Regions from separate parts of the Homo sapiens genome. Here all the other regions are linked to region 4. Evidence: promoter capture Hi-C in human tissues and cell types (Jung and others, 2019). All regions are on one chromosome and are shown on one strand. Each heading gives the region's core, a stretch centred on a gene start or on the middle of the fragment in contact. The rest is flanking DNA. Distances are from core to core; before and after follow the strand shown. Region 1 overlaps MIR4527HG (MIR4527 host gene). Region 2 overlaps KATNAL2 (katanin catalytic subunit A1 like 2). Region 3 overlaps KATNAL2 (katanin catalytic subunit A1 like 2). Region 4 holds the start of SKOR2 (SKI family transcriptional corepressor 2). Region 5 overlaps MIR4527HG (MIR4527 host gene). Region 6 overlaps MIR4527HG (MIR4527 host gene).

Region 1 (2,909 bases), core at 320-2,819, 150 kb before region 4:
CCAAAATTAAGTGTCTCTGATAAATCACTCAACATGGAGGTCCATTCTTTATCTTACTTTCATCTGTCTTGCCATAATCTGTGTCTGATCCAATTTCGAGCAATTTATGTGCTCCTGAGAATGGAGAATGGGTGAGCAGGGTCTTTACTGATCCTAGGCAACCAGGAATTATGGTGGGAGAGAATATTTTAACATACAATCAGCCCCTCACTAGAAGGCCCACTTTGGTTGAAACACATCAATTCAATATGTCTTTTTTTTTCTTTTAGCATGCCTGTTAAAAGAGGAACACACAAATTGCATAGGGCATGGTATCTGCCCACAGGAGGGCTTAGTGTCTACTTAGGAAAATGAGGAACACCCAGGAAATAAAAAAGAAGAGTCACAGTCAAAACAGGGTGAAAGAGACTGTCATGAGAGATCATTATTTCACTTTATCCTCTTCATTCATCAGAAGAGATCTATGTCCATCCAAATCTTTGGCCCAGTTTAATGCAATTCAATACAATAAACGCTTTATTGGGCACCTGCCATGTCCCATGCCTGCAAGGGGTGCACATCCAAGTTATACATCGTGCCTGCCCCTTATCATTGAGGAATTAGTCTGTATTCAGCACTCAACACTTACTCTGGGCCATGCACTGTGCTGTGTGCTGGGAGCTCAGCCTTGAGTGGGAGACCCTTGAGCCAATGCCTGGGAGCTCATGGTCTAGCAGGAAGCAGACAGGTGAGCAGATAAATTAGCACAGATGGAGACTGCAGTGCAAGGGGGAGTGGGGATACCTGGTGCAGGCTGTAGGGAGAGGGGTAATCAAGGCAGATTTGTCTAAGCTGTGACCCGAAGGGTGCGGGAGTGGTGAGCCAGGCCAAGGGAAGGCATTCCAGGTAGGCAGCGTGGCCCACAGATAAGCAGGTTGAACAATGTGTCCTGGTTTGCCCAGGACTTTCTTCTTTGTAGCACTCAAAGTTCCACATTCTAGGAAAGCCCTAAGTACCAGGCAATCGAGGATGATTGATCACCATCAAGAGAAAGTGTGGTATATTCTGAAAACTGAAATTGGTTCAAGTTTAAGACAAGTGTATAAGAGAGTTATCAAAGAATCTTAGATTTTTGTCTACTTGAAAGTTGATCCTAAGGAAGTGCAGACCTTGGTTGCCACCTAAGTTCAGATGCTTTAACTTTTTTAAAGCTATGCTATTTAAATTTTTTAATTAATATTCTCTCTAGCTCAAATATGCCTAAAGCTTAAACAGGGGCTTTGGGAAGCAGACGGGTAATGTAAATGAGTGGCTGCCAGCCAGGTGAGGACAGTGGCCACAGGAGGCTGCACATCCTGCCCCAAGGCGGCAGTCCCTACTCAGCACCAGCTGGCTGTCTGCTGGAGGGAATGTTGCTAGATATCCTGATATTTCAAAAGAAGCCCCAAATCGGAATTTTTATGGGCAGGCTCCTACTGTTAAAATATTTGTGACGAATTCAAGATTTTTAAAAAGGCACTGCCAAACTGAACACTACAGCTGCTAGTTTTCTCCTCTCACGTTACCATTCTTAGTACCTGGTCAATGGAACTATCGCCCCCTTATGGCAGCATAGCCAAATTGCAGGATATTCTCTGAGGGGTAACACCTCTGGAATCAGTGTACTCCAGGGCAAAAGGGTAATCGATGAACCCCTTAACATGGAAAATAGTTGCCCGGGGAGCAGGGTTGGGGCCAAGAAAAGAACGAAGGGCTGAGTTGAAAGCATCAAAAGTCAAGATTTGACTATGTCCCAGTTGGGGCAAGACTGGCCCAGGCTCCATGACAGAGAATCAAAGTCAGCCAGCAATTGATCTTGGGTTGAGGCCTTCAATATGACATCTCAGCTTGAAATTGGCTGTCTTGCTGGCTGATTTATAAAACTTCAAAGAAAAATCCTCAGAGCAGAAATCTTGGCCCACCCTTAACCAAGGCAGCCTTCATCCCATCAGCAGCAAGGCCAGGACCCAGGAGGAGCTGCCATGTTGGTCTGTGCATCTGCAGGTCTAAGTCCATTCTGATTCCAATGCAGCTGGAGGCAAAGTTAAGCTGCCCTGAGCTCTTGTCTCTGCCTTAAGGACTAAACATTTGTAATAGAGTAGAAAGCTCTGCACCTGAATTTTCTGAACCTTATGTCAACAGGTTCCCCTAACCAGCCGCCCTGGCTCCAGATCTATTCTTCATTTTCTCTACAGCTGTGGGTCTTTCTATCTGCCTCCTTTTCACTGATTGTCAAGAGACTTCAATCTCTGACTAGGTAGAGTAGGCATCCACCTCTATGTTAAGAGATCAGGACTATACCCTGCTGTCAGTTTTTCCCCATGTGTTCCCTGAAGTCTCTATTCCTTAGCAGGAGGGGATGTCTTCAATTGCACCGTGCAAAATGAAATTTAAAATGCAAACAGGAAATAGACACATGCACACACACACACATGCACGTGCACCCACACCCAGTGCACACATTGTACACATATGCACACACTAGACTAGGAGTCAGGAGTCCTAGGCTCCCTTTCCAGCCTGCCACTGACTTTCTGTATATAGTTTGGAGGTAGATTTCTCCTCTCTGCACCTCAATTTTCTTTTCTGTCAAATAAAAGGGAATGGGGGTAAATTCCATATCCTCAGTTGTCCCTCCATGATTTTCTATAAAGTCATGTTATGATGCAAGCTAACTGGTAGAAGGCCTTTCCATGAGATTGGGATTACATTAAGCAGATAAGGACATAGGGCGCAGTGGGCAGCTGAAAGGAGAGTGGGAGTCCAGTGAGGGGGAAACGGGCCTGGGCAAGGGTGGCAGACCAAGGGTGCCAGAGATCACCATCTCCAACTTCTCTTCTGCTCAAGGCTGGCACCGGCTGCTAGGCATCTGTCATATTTGTCTCCTCGTG
Region 2 (2,700 bases), core at 46-2,545, 150 kb after region 4:
TTCTTAAAAAGTTTACAAATGAGTAACATTACAGAAAATTGTTCATTAAAATTTTATGGAGTCTAATTGTCAGAAAAATCTCCATTGTATGACCCAATAGCACATATATGTATGTAACTGAAACTCTCAATATTTTGCTGACATCGATAATGGTAAGTTAATAAATATATCTCAGCTATCCAAAACAATACAGTGGCTCAAGTTAATCCAGTCTTCAAAAATAATTTTCTCTTTTCCATTCCAATCATTTTGTTCTCCCACGGACATTAATAAACTAGGAGGTCTTTGTGGTTGCCTTTGTGGCCAGGTCAGGGTAAATGTGGTTTCAGACAGACTCGAACTCTCTTTGCCAGTCTGAGTATCTCTGAGCCAGATTCTTTGCGGAGGGCTTGGTGTGAGTTAGCACATCCAGAAAGTCGGCAGTGGTTACTATATCCAACTGGATCCTGGGTAAGTCGCTGCTTTCTAGGATAAGAACACAACAGTAACAGCACAACAATCGACCTCTTGGTGATCAATGCTCTTGAAACGCTAATAGACCTTCTTTCAAAATAATGCATAATGCAGCATTCTTAATTGTTAATGCAGCAAAAGGCAAGACTAAAGAGGGCTGGGGAAAAATTCTTTAACGTGCAACTGAGTTAGCCCCTAAGGCCCAGACAAAAAAATGTGACCTAAATGTATCGTTACCAGGTATTATTTAATATTTATATAGTGCCTCAAATGGATCCAGCCCAACATCAGAGTGTGCCAGAGAAATAAAAGCCTGAGCCCTAAGGAGTTTATCATCTGCAAGCAAAGTCGATCCAAATCAGAACACCCACGGAGGAATGAGTTGAGTGAGGGATGATTTGACCAAAAAACGCATTGCCAAGTGTAAAGCGGCACCAAGAACAGGCGCCAGGCTCCATCTGCTGGTGAGAGGGATTTTTACACAAATTCCTGGAACACCTTCATGGTGATCCAACCCATACCTGACTGGTGATTTTCAAGTGCATCAAAGATCTTCCTCACGGGCCGCATGGCTGCTTCCCTGCAGACGAGCTTAATATCTGAGCCTGAGTAGCCCTCAGTCTCCTGAAACAGCCAAAAAACCAGCCATTGGTCAGTGGGCAGAATGCTCCTGGCCATTACGTTGTTATAGGCAGGACCCAGTATCAGAAGCCCTGTGTAGATTCTGTATCTGTCACCCATGAACATCCTAAAAAGATTCCCAGATAAACAGTGCTTGAGGAAGAGACCCTGCTAGCATGTTGGGATAACCTAAGCAGCTGGGCTAGAATGGCTTTCTAACACCATCGAAATATGCTGTAAGATGCCAGTGAAGGATCAGAACACCCAAGTTAGCCTATCAGGGCCCCTGTGCTCAAATCCAAGGATGGTCAAATTTGGTAGGCACGTTTATTCTTGTAAATAAGATCATACCTGCCATTTAGGAACCTCAGAGAACATTGTGTTCAAATGTTCACCAAAAGCAGGCAACATTTCTGCAACACCCTGGGAATGGACACCAGTGATAATGGGCATAATAGACATGTACCTGGAGTTTTTCTGTTATGTAATCATCACAGTCATTCTTTGTGGCTCATCTGCTACCCATTTTACAGATGAAGAAACAGGCTCAAAGAGTAAGTGACTTCTCCGAGGTCACACAGCTAACAAGCAGCAGGGCCAGGATTTGACCATAGGTTCTCTGAGTCTAAACCCTATGCTGTTTCCACTGCCTCACATTGTTTCTCCTTCTCTGAATATTTTTAAGTGAAAAGGAGCTTATTCTTCGTGAAGATGCCCATTGCATTACGGGGGCAGCTTGGATCTTATTCTAAGTGTCTCAAGCTTCTATCAGCTCATGGTAAGACCTGGTCTACAAGATGGCCATATGGTGGGCCCTTGACCTACATGTGCCCCTCTCCAGGGCAGCTGACCTGGCTCAGCACACTGTACTCCAGCTCTGTGTGCAGCTCCAAGGCCCTGCTCTTGCTCACAGGAGGCAGCCAGTGGTAGATCATGGCCTGCCTGGCCTCCCGGCTGGGGAGATCGACCAGAATCCTCTTCTCCAGGCGGCGTAACATGGCACAGTCCAGCTCCCTGAAATCACACCAGAAATGGAGCTGGACAGGGCTGCAAACACACTTCCTGAACAACAACTGTACTTTAAGAACAATTTAGCATTGCAGGAAGCAATTCTGCATTTTAACTGTCACTCTACATCTATGCCTTGAGTGGATGGGACAATTAATATTATTTGGAGAAAGAATTGGTGAGAAAGAGAACTGAGGGAGGGAAGGAAGGGAAGAGAGGAAAGCAGAAAGGAAGGAGAAGAAAGAGAAGGAAGGAAGGATGAATGGAAGAAAAGGAAAAGAGCACATTCTCAGAACTAATGAAAAGGAAGTAATTTTATGCGACTTAATTTGGGGTACAAAAACCAACTAACAACCAGCAATCATGAGTATTCTGATTGCAGTTGTAACATGAATTATTCAGTCCGATCTTGCCAGTGAGTAAATTATTGCTGACAATAAGTTGGGCACTCTAAGTACATTAATTCTTCCAAAATTCTCAGTCCTTCTGGAGTGAATGACCCCTCACTTCATTACATTGGTGAACTTAGCACCAGTGGCCCTTCCTGGGTGCCCAGTGCAAATAACCGCCCTTTCAGACACTCACTTTTACTCCTCCCAAAACTGTCAGGCCAAGTTT
Region 3 (2,741 bases), core at 147-2,646, 190 kb after region 4:
AGGTTTTTGCCATGTTGGCCAGGCTGGTCTCAAACCCCTGGCCTCAAGTGATCTACCCATCTCAGTCTCCCAAAGTGCTAGGATTGTAGGTGTGAGCCACTGCATCTGGTCTAGAGAAAGTATTTATAAAAGTACTTTGGTCATGCATGATATTTACAATCCATTCTTGGATTGAAGGGTAGAGAAAGGACTCAGTCTTCCTTATTCTGTCTATAGAGCCTGGATCTACATGCAGGCCCACCAGCCACTCACATTCTTATTACCGTCCTTTCTTAGTGAAATCTCGGCACACAAGGAAGATTCATTTACCTAGGTATTAAAAGCATCCATAGATAACAGCAGTATTTCTTGACCTCTTCTAGAGTTGAGTTCCACAAGGTAATGTTTAATTTCCCAACTGACAGTTTCTCCTTGTATCAATCCAAAGTTAACAGTCAGAACTCAACAGGACTACCTCATGAGGTGGTGAGCTCTCCGTCACTGTAAGCATTCAAGCAGGAGCAGGGTTTCTACCTCCTATGCTACTATAGAAAGGATTCCAGATGGAATCATCTCAGGCCATTTCCACTCTATAGTTCTATCCTCATAGTCATGTTACCCTTTTGCAAAAATGGTAATGAGACTATTAATTTGGGGTTACTGCAGCCTGGCTCAGTCCCTCATCCCCTCTCACTGGTAAAAACCTTATAGATGGTCTCCCCATCTCCTTTTCTTTGCTATTCATTCATCTCACTGTCATAGAACAAGCCATCCACAAGCACATGGGATGATCCCATCCTCCGACGGGCGCCTTTCTAAGGTCCCCTCTTCTATAGGTGTGTTCTCAGCCCTGGGTACTGCTCACAGCACCCTTCCTCAGGAACCCTGCCTCTCTCCACCCGTTCCCCACCACTCCCTGCTTCTTAGGTGGCCCACAGGACATGTGCACAAACTGCAATTTCTCATGGAAGTGCCTATGCCCAGAACAGCTCCTAGCCTCCCTCTTCCACTTTTTCCCTTAGCGATTTCCTGTCTTCTTTCCTAACACTTTCCCCACCCCTCCCTCCTTCATGCTCTTAAAGTGCACTTTGTCCCTGGGATGAGAAACTCTTGAGGGCAAGGACTATGCTCTGACTCGTTCACATTTGTGTCTCCAGCCCACAGCACACACCTGACACACAAGAGGCATACAGGAAACAACTGCTGAGCTGAACAGAGACAGCTCAGGAGCCCTTAGCTTCTCAGAGGAGCTGTGAATTTTGGGGATCATTTTAAACCCCCCTCTGAGCCTGCCTAGGTTTCAGTCTTCAATTAAATATGAAGCAATAGAAATTAGAAAAATACCCTATAACTCAGGAATCTATTTTATTTCCCAGGAACTTGCCCAAAGTCACACAGCTAGCAAGAGAAGGATCTAGAAATCAAAGGCAGGTCAGCTAATTCCAAAGCCTGTTCTTCACTGCCTTCTGGTTCCACAGTGCAAGCTGGAAAAGTCCGTAGTCTGGATGGTAGTCTTTCCTGCTAATTGTGTTTTTCATGGAGATTTTCAATGATGATATCATCAGACTCCCGACGTCTCTATTTCTAGGCTCTGACTTTTTAAACCAGATGCAGACATACTCTTTTCTTCTTTAAGAGGCTTTCTTTCCTTGACTCTTGGCTCTGCTATAAAACCTTTCACCTGTCCCTTCATTCCTAAGTCTTTTTCTCTCTTGGTTTTCTTGGCCTCTATCATGAGATGGTGGGGTTTGTATATTGTAATTTTATGACTCTATAATTTATTTATCATGCATTATTGTGCCTCTAAACAATATGAGTGCCTGCGCAAGTGGGGGCACTTTATAAATAAATGATCATATTTATTGTTATTAATAAAAGAAGCAGCCCACAAAGCTCCAGAAGCCCCAGCCTGCCTCCATAAATTTGTGAATTGAATATCAGATCTTACCCGGCTCACCACGGCTGCCAATTCTCGCATCTCACTGTTCATGCCAATAAATGCACTCAGAGGTTTCAGCAGTCGTTCCTGATGAGAGGAGCGGAAAGGCTCACATTACAATATTGCTTCATAATTTAGGAAGAAACCCCGGGCATGCACAGGTCTTGGTGAAACAAACGATGGCAGGTGGCTATGGCCTTTAACTTGATCTCAAGGTTTCACTGTACTCAAAATTATATTTCCAGAGTTCATCTGGATGTTGGCAATTTGAAAGATGAATGTCACATCTTCGCCACTTACTGAGGGGTCTGGATTATGGTCGAAGGTGTTCAAGGCAAGTTCACTGGTTGCTCCCTTGATGGCATCTGTGAGCAGCCCTTGGAAGTCAATGATTTGGCCCTGAAAGGGAGGAATGGTTATTTATGCCATGAGAACATAAGAGAAGACTCTTCTTAATAACTCAGTTTCATTAAACCAAGACACATTTATAGACCCTGGTATATAGGGCAAACTTCAAGTTAAGCTTTAAAAAGAACCAGCACTAGTATTAAACGTGATGATTTCCTCAAGTTGGAGCACCTTAAAAAATTGTAAGTACATTTTCCAGAATGAAGTGGATTTGAATAAAAATTCATGAGTATTTCTCAGTTCCTGACACAGACCATCTGCTTCCTCCCTTATATGTTGACTTCCCCTGTATGGTCTTATCCTCTTAAAATATTACACATGCAGAAAGAACTCATTGGCACAATGGTAATGAGAGTTCCTGTCTATGGATTGTGATACACGTTCACCACTCAATAGAGTGCTGGGTACAAAATAA
Region 4 (3,106 bases), core at 475-2,974:
GAACGTTTCCCTTTGTGGGAGCCCCTGACCCCAGAGAGGAGGCAGAGGAGGGGAAAAGAACCAGCTTAGCCCTGAAACCTTCTAAAGAGCACTGAGCCTTCGGCCTCAGAGAGAAGGGATTTGTGAATGACAATGGCGCGCTTTTGGCCAATGGGCTGGGTAGGCAGAAAGTGTGAGTTTTCCTTCTTTTTAGGATGGGAGGCTTTGGGGTATTGGCGGGGGAGCACTAGGTTGATTTCAGCCCCTTAGGATAAAGCCCAATTTGTGCCTTGAATGTCTTTAGAAACTAGAAGATGGGTGAAAAATTCTTTCATTGCCCGTTGAAACTTATGCCCAAACGTTTCGATTTTCATGTCTCTGTAACTGTGTTTTCAGGATATTAATTTAAAATAGACACAACTCCTGAGCAACAAGCCCCTCACGTTTCTGTTCAATTGACTTTCCTTGGGTTTATTAACCTTTGATGAAGGTTAAGATTTCACATTTTTGCTCTTGTATTTAGGAGTGGTATGTTGTTGGTGCTATGACACAATCTGGGTGGGCTTTCAGCTTGGTAGATGTTTTTCCATCATTTCCACAATGCTAGGACTGTTTCACTAGGCAGCAATTGAAAATTCAGCTATGGTAGTAAAGGAAAAACTTAAAGGATTTCCCAGCCCCACCCCAGCCGGCATCCTTCTTAGAACATACTCCAAATAAGTGGTTTCTTTCCTTTCCGATAAACTAGCCAGTGGTCGTTTTGACTCTTAACAGCTGGTCAATTGGGACGCACTATATTGACACTTCATTAATACACTAGGGTGCGCCTCATTTAGGGAAACTGTGAGGAAATGTTTTCTCATCCTAGTCTTTATTTTAGGGGAGGAGATCATGCTTCTACATGTTTTCCTGATTAAATTTATTTATTTCTCCAGGAAAATTGGCAACTTGCTGAAGGACTCTTCCATGTGGGGGACCTCCCTGCTTCCCTGCCCCACCCTTTCCTTGTGTAGAGGTAGCCTTACGGATCTTGTAAAATGGGTTAGAGGACGATTCTGAATGAAGTTTGATAAATCGATGTGCATATGCACATATTGGGGTCCTCACCTAATTGTACACTCCATAAAATAGAGAAGGCTGCAGTGACTCTGCATCTTGTCCTATAAAGCAAATGTATATGCAAAAGTCGGGGCACTCCAAGTTTTCTGATTGGGCACCCTATGTGGAAACTTCTCTCCTTTTTCTCATTTCATAGCGTTTCAAAGGAGTCACTGAAGCTAATTTATTCTCCAGCTGACTGTGGATTCTGTCTTCAGACACAGAGCAGCTTTGCATCCTGTACCAGAGGGATCATTCATGAAGGAGGGTGACTCAGAAATGAGGGGAGGAGACAATAACGGTCAGGGATATAGTTAATTTGGAGGCGTCCTTCTAGAATCCGGGGCCTCCAGGATCTAGGTCCCGGGATGCAGGCAGACTGTTCGCTTTCCACTCCTAAATCAGATCTGCGGCTCCAGCACCATTGCTGCAGTTTACTCCGGGGCTGAGGAGGTTGTTGTCAATTGCGAGTTGGTTAGGTTGGTAGCTTTCGTGCCTGCTGAGAAAGGATCTCTCTGTTGCTCGCGCTGGCTTTCGCTCTCCCCCTCCCTCCCTGTAACATGCCAGCCCTTTAATGTGGAGTGTCAGGGAGACGGTGACGTCACCCTGCCCGCTGGGTGGCGTCCCCTCGGTCCGACACGAGTTCAGAGACAGACGCTGTCAGACTGCGCTCCACTTGGGGCTCTCCTGCCGCGGGTTTCTGCGTACCCACACTTTCTGCGGTGGAGGGGACGCCCCGCCGCAATTCAGGCCGTCATTCTCCCCAGGCCGGGGTTTGAGCGCCATTCGCTCGGGCCAGAGCCCGGATCTTCGCGCGGAGCCCGCCAGAGTCCCGCCCGCTGGATACGAGGACCCGCTTGGATGCTTCGCCTCCGAGCGCCCTCGGAAGATGGGCCGGCAGCCACACGCCTAAAGACACCCAGAGGTTACCAGGTATTGCCGGAACCGGCCGCCCCAATCCGGCACACAGCTTGCTGGGCACCTATTTGAGATCCCCAGCGGTAGGATTTTCCGCGTTAGGTTGAGGGGCAGCGGTGGGCTTCCGTGGTGACTGGTTTGGGAGTCGGGAGAACTAAGTTGGGGGTGGGGGGGTCTTTGGCTGTTGGGCAGGATAGGGAAGTTCACCAGGTTCCTTTCTCAGTTCAACTAACTTTTAATTGTCTCTTCTCCCCTCCCCACCCACCCAAAAAATAATGCCCCAACCAAAACCTTGTGTCTGCTCTGACGGCAGTTTCTGGGAGGGCTTGGGGTAAAAGTGAGGAGACACTTCTGCCTGGTCTACTGCTGCTAAGGCTGCGAGTCCTTAACGCAGAGCCAGCTTCCCGCCCCGGCTGGCCAGCCGCGCGCCTTGCTGGGGAGCGAGAGTTGGAATTATCCCAGGGTCTTATTAAGCGGATATGAATCTTGTTTGGTAGGGAAATGAGCATCGAAGGGCCACCTGACGAAGCTAGTGTTGGTTGTATCAGACTCGGGTGTCACTGCGCCTTGAACTGCCATGTAACGCCCTGTCCCCTGGAAATATTGTCTCTGATCCACCCAAAGTGACAAGCAGGCTTTCCTCTCCTTTGATCGCGTCGAGGTTTGTTCAAGCTTCCTGGAGGCCGCCAAATGTAATGAGAACTGAGGATCCAGGGGGCAGCAGGACAGAGGCTGCTGTATAGATGCCACAGGGGCCCAGAGAGAGGACACGGATAAGAAATTGGGTGAGGGAGTAAGATCGTGTACCCTCTGAAAGCACTGTAATAGCGAACTCGCTGTACGTGGCCGAAAGGGGCCACGCTATGGCCTCTGGTGATTTTTCAGGGCAAAGCATGCCTTGGCCAATGCGCTTGAGATGTAGCTGTGGAAAGATCAGTGTTTGTTTTCCTAGGGAGTGAGCCACTTTCCTTCTTTCCACTTAGTGGCATTGTCACTAAAATTTCTTTCCGCTTCCTTGTTCTGTATTTTCAACTTACTGAATATTTTCCCTCATTGTGGCATTCTGTTGACTGGAGGTGAAGTTAGAAATTTTACCACAGACCCAACCTGG
Region 5 (2,818 bases), core at 267-2,766, 240 kb before region 4:
AAAGGCGACATGCCTTGCCCACAGCTAGTTGCAGAGACTTAAAGTCCAAGTCTTCTCTCCCAGTCTAGTACTTTTCCAACTGGACCACACTGCCTTTAAACATCTGGCTCAAAACTTATAATGGCTTGTTTTTCCTTTTTAAAACAGGATGTATGAATAGGACCAAGACCTCGTGGGCCCTGTGCCTCCTGCACCAAGTCTAAACTCCCCTCCCCTTCGTAGCTGTACACTCTTCACTATTATCTCCTCCAGCTCAAGATTGGCTGAAAAAGCCCCAGAGCTGCTTGTGCCTCTTACCTCCTTTATGCCATACCCGTTTCCTGGAATGCCTTTCCCAGGCCTCAATCTAGTCAGTGTCACTCATGTGTTAAAGTTGGCAGGAGCTCAGCTGAGCTGGGAGAGGGTGCTGAGCTGTCAGGTGTCAGAGAGGCTGATTAAAATGACAAGCCAAAAATGAAAGGGTTAAGCCTTGAATCACTTCCTGCAGTGGTAAAAGCAAGAGTCTAAAACTGGAGGAAATACCAGCTCTCTCTGTTCTGTTTTCCCTCGGAACGGCACAGACGTGGGGCTGATCTCACTGTTGAGGAGCCTCAGACCAAAAGCTCTGTTAGTTTTAGGGACGCTGGGGGTGGAGGATGTCAAGGGGGAAGGCTAGGAGTGGAAAATCCTGGGTAGTGGGGAAGTGTCTTCAAGGTTTCCTTCCCTTCCCTCCATAAGAAGTCTTAGCAGAGGTCTCTAAAGAAAACCTCAGCCCAAGGCCTCAAAAACCTAGGAAAGAAGGTGTCCATGCTAGGGATACAAATATGCCAAGAGCACAACCAACCAGGGGCCTGAGATCTTAAATGCAACTTCATCTTGAGTCTGCAATGCCCTGTCCATGCACTAAGTCCAGTGTGGAGGTCAGTGTTCTGGTCCCAGCCAGTGCTTCAAAGCAGGAACACATGAAAAACCAAGGATTGGGAACAGAGGTTAGAGACCTCCTTTTTACCTAGAGCCAGAAGTAAGACACAAACTGGTCAGCCAAGGGGTCAGTCAACACCAGGAGTTAATGCCAAGGATCCAGAAACCAAGAAGCCAAATGGTCAGCATCCCACACGCACTGTAGGACAAGAACCAAGGCTGAGCCTACTCCGAGGATGAACATCATTTGGATGAGGGGTGGGTGTCTGCATGAGGACTACTCTGGGTCTATTGAGGAATTTAGAGATTTGCACTGGTGGAGTAATGAGAAGACTGTGACTGCCGGCATGCCCTTATTCAGGTTCAGAGGAGGGTTCGGGGTGGGGGTTTTGGAGATGCTGGAATGAGCTTCTCTAACAGCAGTAAAGTCAAAGGAAAGCCAACCTCCATAGTGACCTAGCACATCCATTATAGACTAAATGGCCAAATGTGAGAAACAAACTTAACCAAAACCAGCCAATTGCCACCTCTCATTGTGCTCTGCCCCTCTAGTGCCAATATCTTCCCAGCAAACAGAGGCCATTGGATACCGTCAACTTTGCTGGGTGCTATTTGTGTGTCAGCTTCCGGTCCTTGCACACCAGGTTCTTGTATCTTTCCTCCCAAGTGGAGCTCCACCCACCGGCTCTGGATGGCGGCTCAGCTGGAAAACAGCTGCCCAGCCCTGGTTCCATTGAAGGTAGGAGAGCCCAACAGCCTGCCTGTGGTGACCCCACACGTTGCTGGTCTGGGCTGAGTACCACAGTGAAAGAGATCTAAGCCTCCCCTCTTCTGTGACCTCACCCTCCCCCCTTTTCTCCATCCCCCCCAAAAAGAGGGGAAAATCAATTTCAATCAACGTGGAATGTAATATTATCAAATGTCAGCTGCTGAGGTCATGTGCTTTGAAAATTATCTTTGACAGCTTCTGGTCGACTTAATTAAGTGCTCCCCAAAAAGGGGGGAGGGAGGCAAAAATACCCTGATTGCTAGCTGCTATGCCTTTGTGCTTTAGAGCTTCTATTGACAACTCTAAGCAAGATTGCCTTGGGGGTTTTATTGATAGATTCTCGCGTGATATTGGAATGATTCTTGCACAGATAAATCACATTTAGATTTGTTGGTAATTGAGGAGAATTGATTGGAGCAGGAGGGGAGCCCCCAAGGGGTGGTCTCCTTGTCCTCATTGTAGGAAGCTTGAGGGGAAAGAGGGGAGGGGTGTCCTCAAAGAGCTGAGAGCCTGCAGGGGGATCCAGGCTCTATTGTTTACCTGTCAATTCTACTTTCCTCTGAACCCCGATCCACCTCATCACCTCCCAAAGGAGAGGCATGGAGAGAAAGATGGAGGCAGAGGCTAGGGAAAAGTTTGTTCCAGATACATTTTGGAGGCGCTGTTTCAGGAGTGTCCTGGGCCATGTGACCATACCTCAGGCTTGATCTTTCTTAGTTCCAAATCTGACTGTGCCTCCTTGTTTAAAACACTTCAAAGACTTCCTGATCAAGATACAGTTCAAACTCCACCATGTGGCCTGTGTTTGCTGCCTGTGTCTCCAACTGTCTCCCCTGCTACTTCTGTAAACTCTAAACTTCTGACATCTCTCTCACTTCCTTTGGGTCACCTTCCTGGGGGTCAAGATGGTAGGAGCTCTTTCTCTGTTAGGACTTTCCCATAAACTTTCCCACATGGGAGCCAAGAGAGCACCAACCAGATAGAATGGTGGCCAAACTTGTCCAAGCAATAGAACCCTTTGCCAAAGCAAATCTCCTTTGGCAGCCCAATGCACAAAATGCAGAAAAGTAAGGCTGTTCTGGTTGAAACAACTTGGGCAACCACCTCCCTGTCACCTGGGCCTTTCTCCTTCCCTCACCTCCTGCCTAT
Region 6 (2,790 bases), core at 197-2,696, 210 kb before region 4:
GAGTTGAATAGTAATCCCCCATCCCTGCCCCCTGCCAAGATTCTTGTTCACTTGGAACCTCAGAACGTGACCTCATTTGAAAATAAGGTCTTTGCAGATGTAATCAAATGACGATGAGGTCATATTGGATTAGGGTGGGTCCTAAATCTAATGACTGGTGTCCTCATAAGGAGAGGGAGATTTGAGGACACGCAGACACAGAGAGAGATGACAGCCATGTGAAGATGAAGTGAGAGACTGGAGTCATGTGGCCGATGATTGCCTGAGGCCACCAGAAGATAGGAAGGGACATGGGAAGAGTCTCCCTGGAGCCTTCAGCAAGAGCACGGCCCTGCTGATACCTTAATTTGGGACTTCTGGTCTTCAGAACTGTGAGAGAATATATTTCTGTTGCTTCAAGCCACTCAGTGTGGCAACCATAGGACATTAACACAGTCTTCCCACTTCCTTAGTCTTGAGGCAGATAGCCCTTAACTGCTGATCCCAACATCAGTGTCTCCATGAGATCAGATCCCATGTGACTCACAGTGATTGATCCTAGATTGATCAGGGCAGGCCCTGAACTTTTGATACCAGTCCATGAAGAAATAAGTCCAGAAATTGAGATTAGGCATTTACAAACTCACAGCAGTTTGATGGGGTAATTTTATGTCTGTGGATTCTAATAATTTGAAAAATTGGGGCTTGTAGTTTGTACATTTTTTTAATTTCATGTTTCTAATGATTCATTTTTGTTGATTCTCCAAAAGTATCAGTATATGACAAATTGAAAAATTTTTTAAATAAAACTACTCCTTCAGCACCAAGAGCTTGAGAAACTTCACAGGAGTTAACTGGCCTTTTCTGAAATAGGCCCCCCATCTCCTTAGACGGCAGGTGCCATCATAAACAGCATTTTAGGTTTTTCCTTTTATTACAACAAGCTCACCTTTTTTCTAGGATTGATCCTACTCACTCTACGGCAACTGCTGCCACCTCCAATTTTTGCCAAGGAGTCCTGGGGATGTCTCCCAGTTACCACGAGATTTGGTCTTTAGTCTTCTCTTCTGCCCAGCTCAGGCCTCGGGGTACAGCGTCAGGCGCAGTTGCTCAGACTCTCCCTGCAGGTTTTCCCCATGCTCACTTCTACTGACCCTGAGCAGAGGCTGCTGCCTGGTGTTCTCTGTGCCTTACACAAATGCTTGTTGTCAGCTCCTATCAATTTTGCTTGTTCGTTCCTTCCCTGCAGCCTCTAGCCTCTCTAGGAACCAGGCCTGGGTCTTGAGGACCAGGAGGGGGTCAGTCTGAAAACCAGTCATTGTACAGAATCACACTCCTTTGACAGACCTGGACCTACAATACATGCTCTACCTCAGAAGGGCTTCATCCCCAGGAGTTCCTCAGTGCCCATGCAGGTAGACTAAGGACAGCCCCTGTCTTCCATGCATGCATCAACAGACCTGAACTCACATTGCATACCAGCTTAGGCCAGCCCAAGCCCCACTGCACTCAGAGACAAAAAGCTACAATTTCGTCAACTCTCCTAATGGCTAATGAACATATAGCATGTTCCATGTGCCAGCTGATGTTCTAAGTGCATGTACCCTTTTGACTCCTTTAATGCTTACAACATCCCTGTGAGGTGGATGCTACTATTACTCCCACCTTACAGACGAGAAAACTGATGTCCAAAGTGCTTGAGTAACTTGCCCAAGGTTACTAGAAAGCAAGTGACAAAACTGTAATTCAAATCTGGGCCCTCTGCCTCCAGCGCCCACCTATGTGACCACCCAAGTCATCCTGTAGTTCTGTCTCTCCAGGGGCAGAAACTGTCCAAATCCTGCCAATGCAGAGCAGGCACTCATTTCGGGTAGAATGTTTCTTCCACAGCTTTGTAGAATTCACATCTGTCACAGTTAAGAAGCCATAGCTGCTCTTTGTCTTGCGGGGAGACTTTCAATCCCTCGCAAAAATCCAGATTCTACAAGGGCTTCAGGAGGCGTTTCTTGGCTCTCTCCCCATTTGCCCCACCCAGTTTACTTCCCCCTTCTCTGGCCTTGTTGACCAACCTCCTGTCTTCACAGGTCAGCCCAGGAGCAGCTCCCATGCCAGGCAGGTGACTTCAGAGGGTTGGGACTGTCAAGGAGAAGAATGGCTAACTGCCTCTGGCTGATGCCTTAAATGTCCTCTTTAGGCTGCTTGTTCATCTACTTGAGATAGGAGACCATGATAATAAAAATCATGCATCTTCACTGGAAAAAATGTCAAACTATACAAAGACATAGAAAGGAAATAACTAAAGCTCCTTCCCATTCCTTCTTCCTTCCCGGTTCTAGGCCCCAAAAGTAAGTTGTTTGATTATACAAGTTGATCTCTGTTGAGGTACAAATACCCCTGAAAAAAGAAGCCCTGTTGCATTGCCCTGGGTCATTTACCCTCATGTGAATGAAATAAATCATGTGACCCCTGCAAACACACACATGCACACATGCATGCACATACATGCACGCACACATTTCCTGAGATGAGGTTTTGAAGGGAGTGGGGAAGATAATCATGGGCCTGGTTGGAGATAATGGGGTCTCAGATGGAGGAGATGGTAAAGCAGGGAGGCAGGAGCACTGTAGATGAAATATGCAAACTTTACACTTTGGCTCAGGTCCGGGCCCAGGAAGGAAAAGGGGAGGGAAGGAAGCTTGCTAGAAGTCCAGGTATGGTCAGAACTGGAAGGAAACTCAGAGGGTGCCCAGGGGGCTAGAATCTGGCTGATAAATACATACGGAACAGCTGGAAGTCCCAACAAATAGCCCT

What was found. Contacts are between HindIII fragments. The study calls those that stand out against the background at their distance.
Region 1: a contact is called between a fragment that was not itself captured here and the fragment with the promoter of SKOR2 in region 4, in 2 of the 25 tissues and cell types used here (spleen and thymus).
Region 2: a contact is called between a fragment that was not itself captured here and the fragment with the promoter of SKOR2 in region 4, in 2 of the 25 tissues and cell types used here (liver and mesendoderm cells).
Region 3: a fragment that was not itself captured here is called in contact with the fragment with the promoter of SKOR2 in region 4 in 2 of the 25 tissues and cell types used here (pancreas and spleen).
Region 5: a contact is called between a fragment that was not itself captured here and the fragment with the promoter of SKOR2 in region 4, in 5 of the 25 tissues and cell types used here (heart left ventricle, lymphoblastoid cells, mesendoderm cells and 2 more).
Region 6: a fragment that was not itself captured here is called in contact with the fragment with the promoter of SKOR2 in region 4 in 2 of the 25 tissues and cell types used here (bladder and heart right ventricle).

The regions. Positions count from the first base shown.
Region 1 is chr18:47,396,545-47,399,453 of GRCh38, reverse strand. All of the region lies in intron 1 of MIR4527HG (MIR4527 host gene), which reads right to left. Among named protein-coding and RNA genes, the nearest start is that of MIR4527, 18 kb to the right of the region's middle. The HindIII fragment of the contact is 8,960 bases long and covers 1-2,909 here.
Region 2 is chr18:47,098,631-47,101,330 of GRCh38, reverse strand. KATNAL2 (katanin catalytic subunit A1 like 2) reads right to left here. Exons shown (of 18, transcript NM_001387690.1): 16 at 1,926-2,088; 17 at 975-1,077; 18 at 1-465. The coding sequence ends at 326. Among named protein-coding and RNA genes, the nearest start is that of HDHD2, 51 kb to the left of the region's middle. RefSeq lists silencers at 835-944, 780-992. The HindIII fragment of the contact is 3,099 bases long and covers 1-2,700 here.
Region 3 is chr18:47,062,548-47,065,288 of GRCh38, reverse strand. KATNAL2 (katanin catalytic subunit A1 like 2) reads right to left here. Exons shown (of 18, transcript NM_001387690.1): 9 at 2,219-2,317; 10 at 1,928-2,005. Among named protein-coding and RNA genes, the nearest start is that of ELOA2, 28 kb to the right of the region's middle. The HindIII fragment of the contact is 5,865 bases long and covers 1-2,741 here.
Region 4 is chr18:47,250,278-47,253,383 of GRCh38, reverse strand. SKOR2 (SKI family transcriptional corepressor 2) reads left to right here and starts at 1,724. Exons shown (of 9, transcript NM_001278063.4): 1 at 1,724-2,010. RefSeq lists an enhancer at 1,340-1,856. The HindIII fragment of the contact is 10,120 bases long and covers 1-3,106 here.
Region 5 is chr18:47,488,679-47,491,496 of GRCh38, reverse strand. All of the region lies in intron 1 of MIR4527HG (MIR4527 host gene), which reads right to left. Among named protein-coding and RNA genes, the nearest start is that of MIR4527, 110 kb to the right of the region's middle. The HindIII fragment of the contact is 4,740 bases long and covers 1-2,818 here.
Region 6 is chr18:47,458,970-47,461,759 of GRCh38, reverse strand. All of the region lies in intron 1 of MIR4527HG (MIR4527 host gene), which reads right to left. Among named protein-coding and RNA genes, the nearest start is that of MIR4527, 80 kb to the right of the region's middle. The HindIII fragment of the contact is 4,473 bases long and covers 1-2,790 here.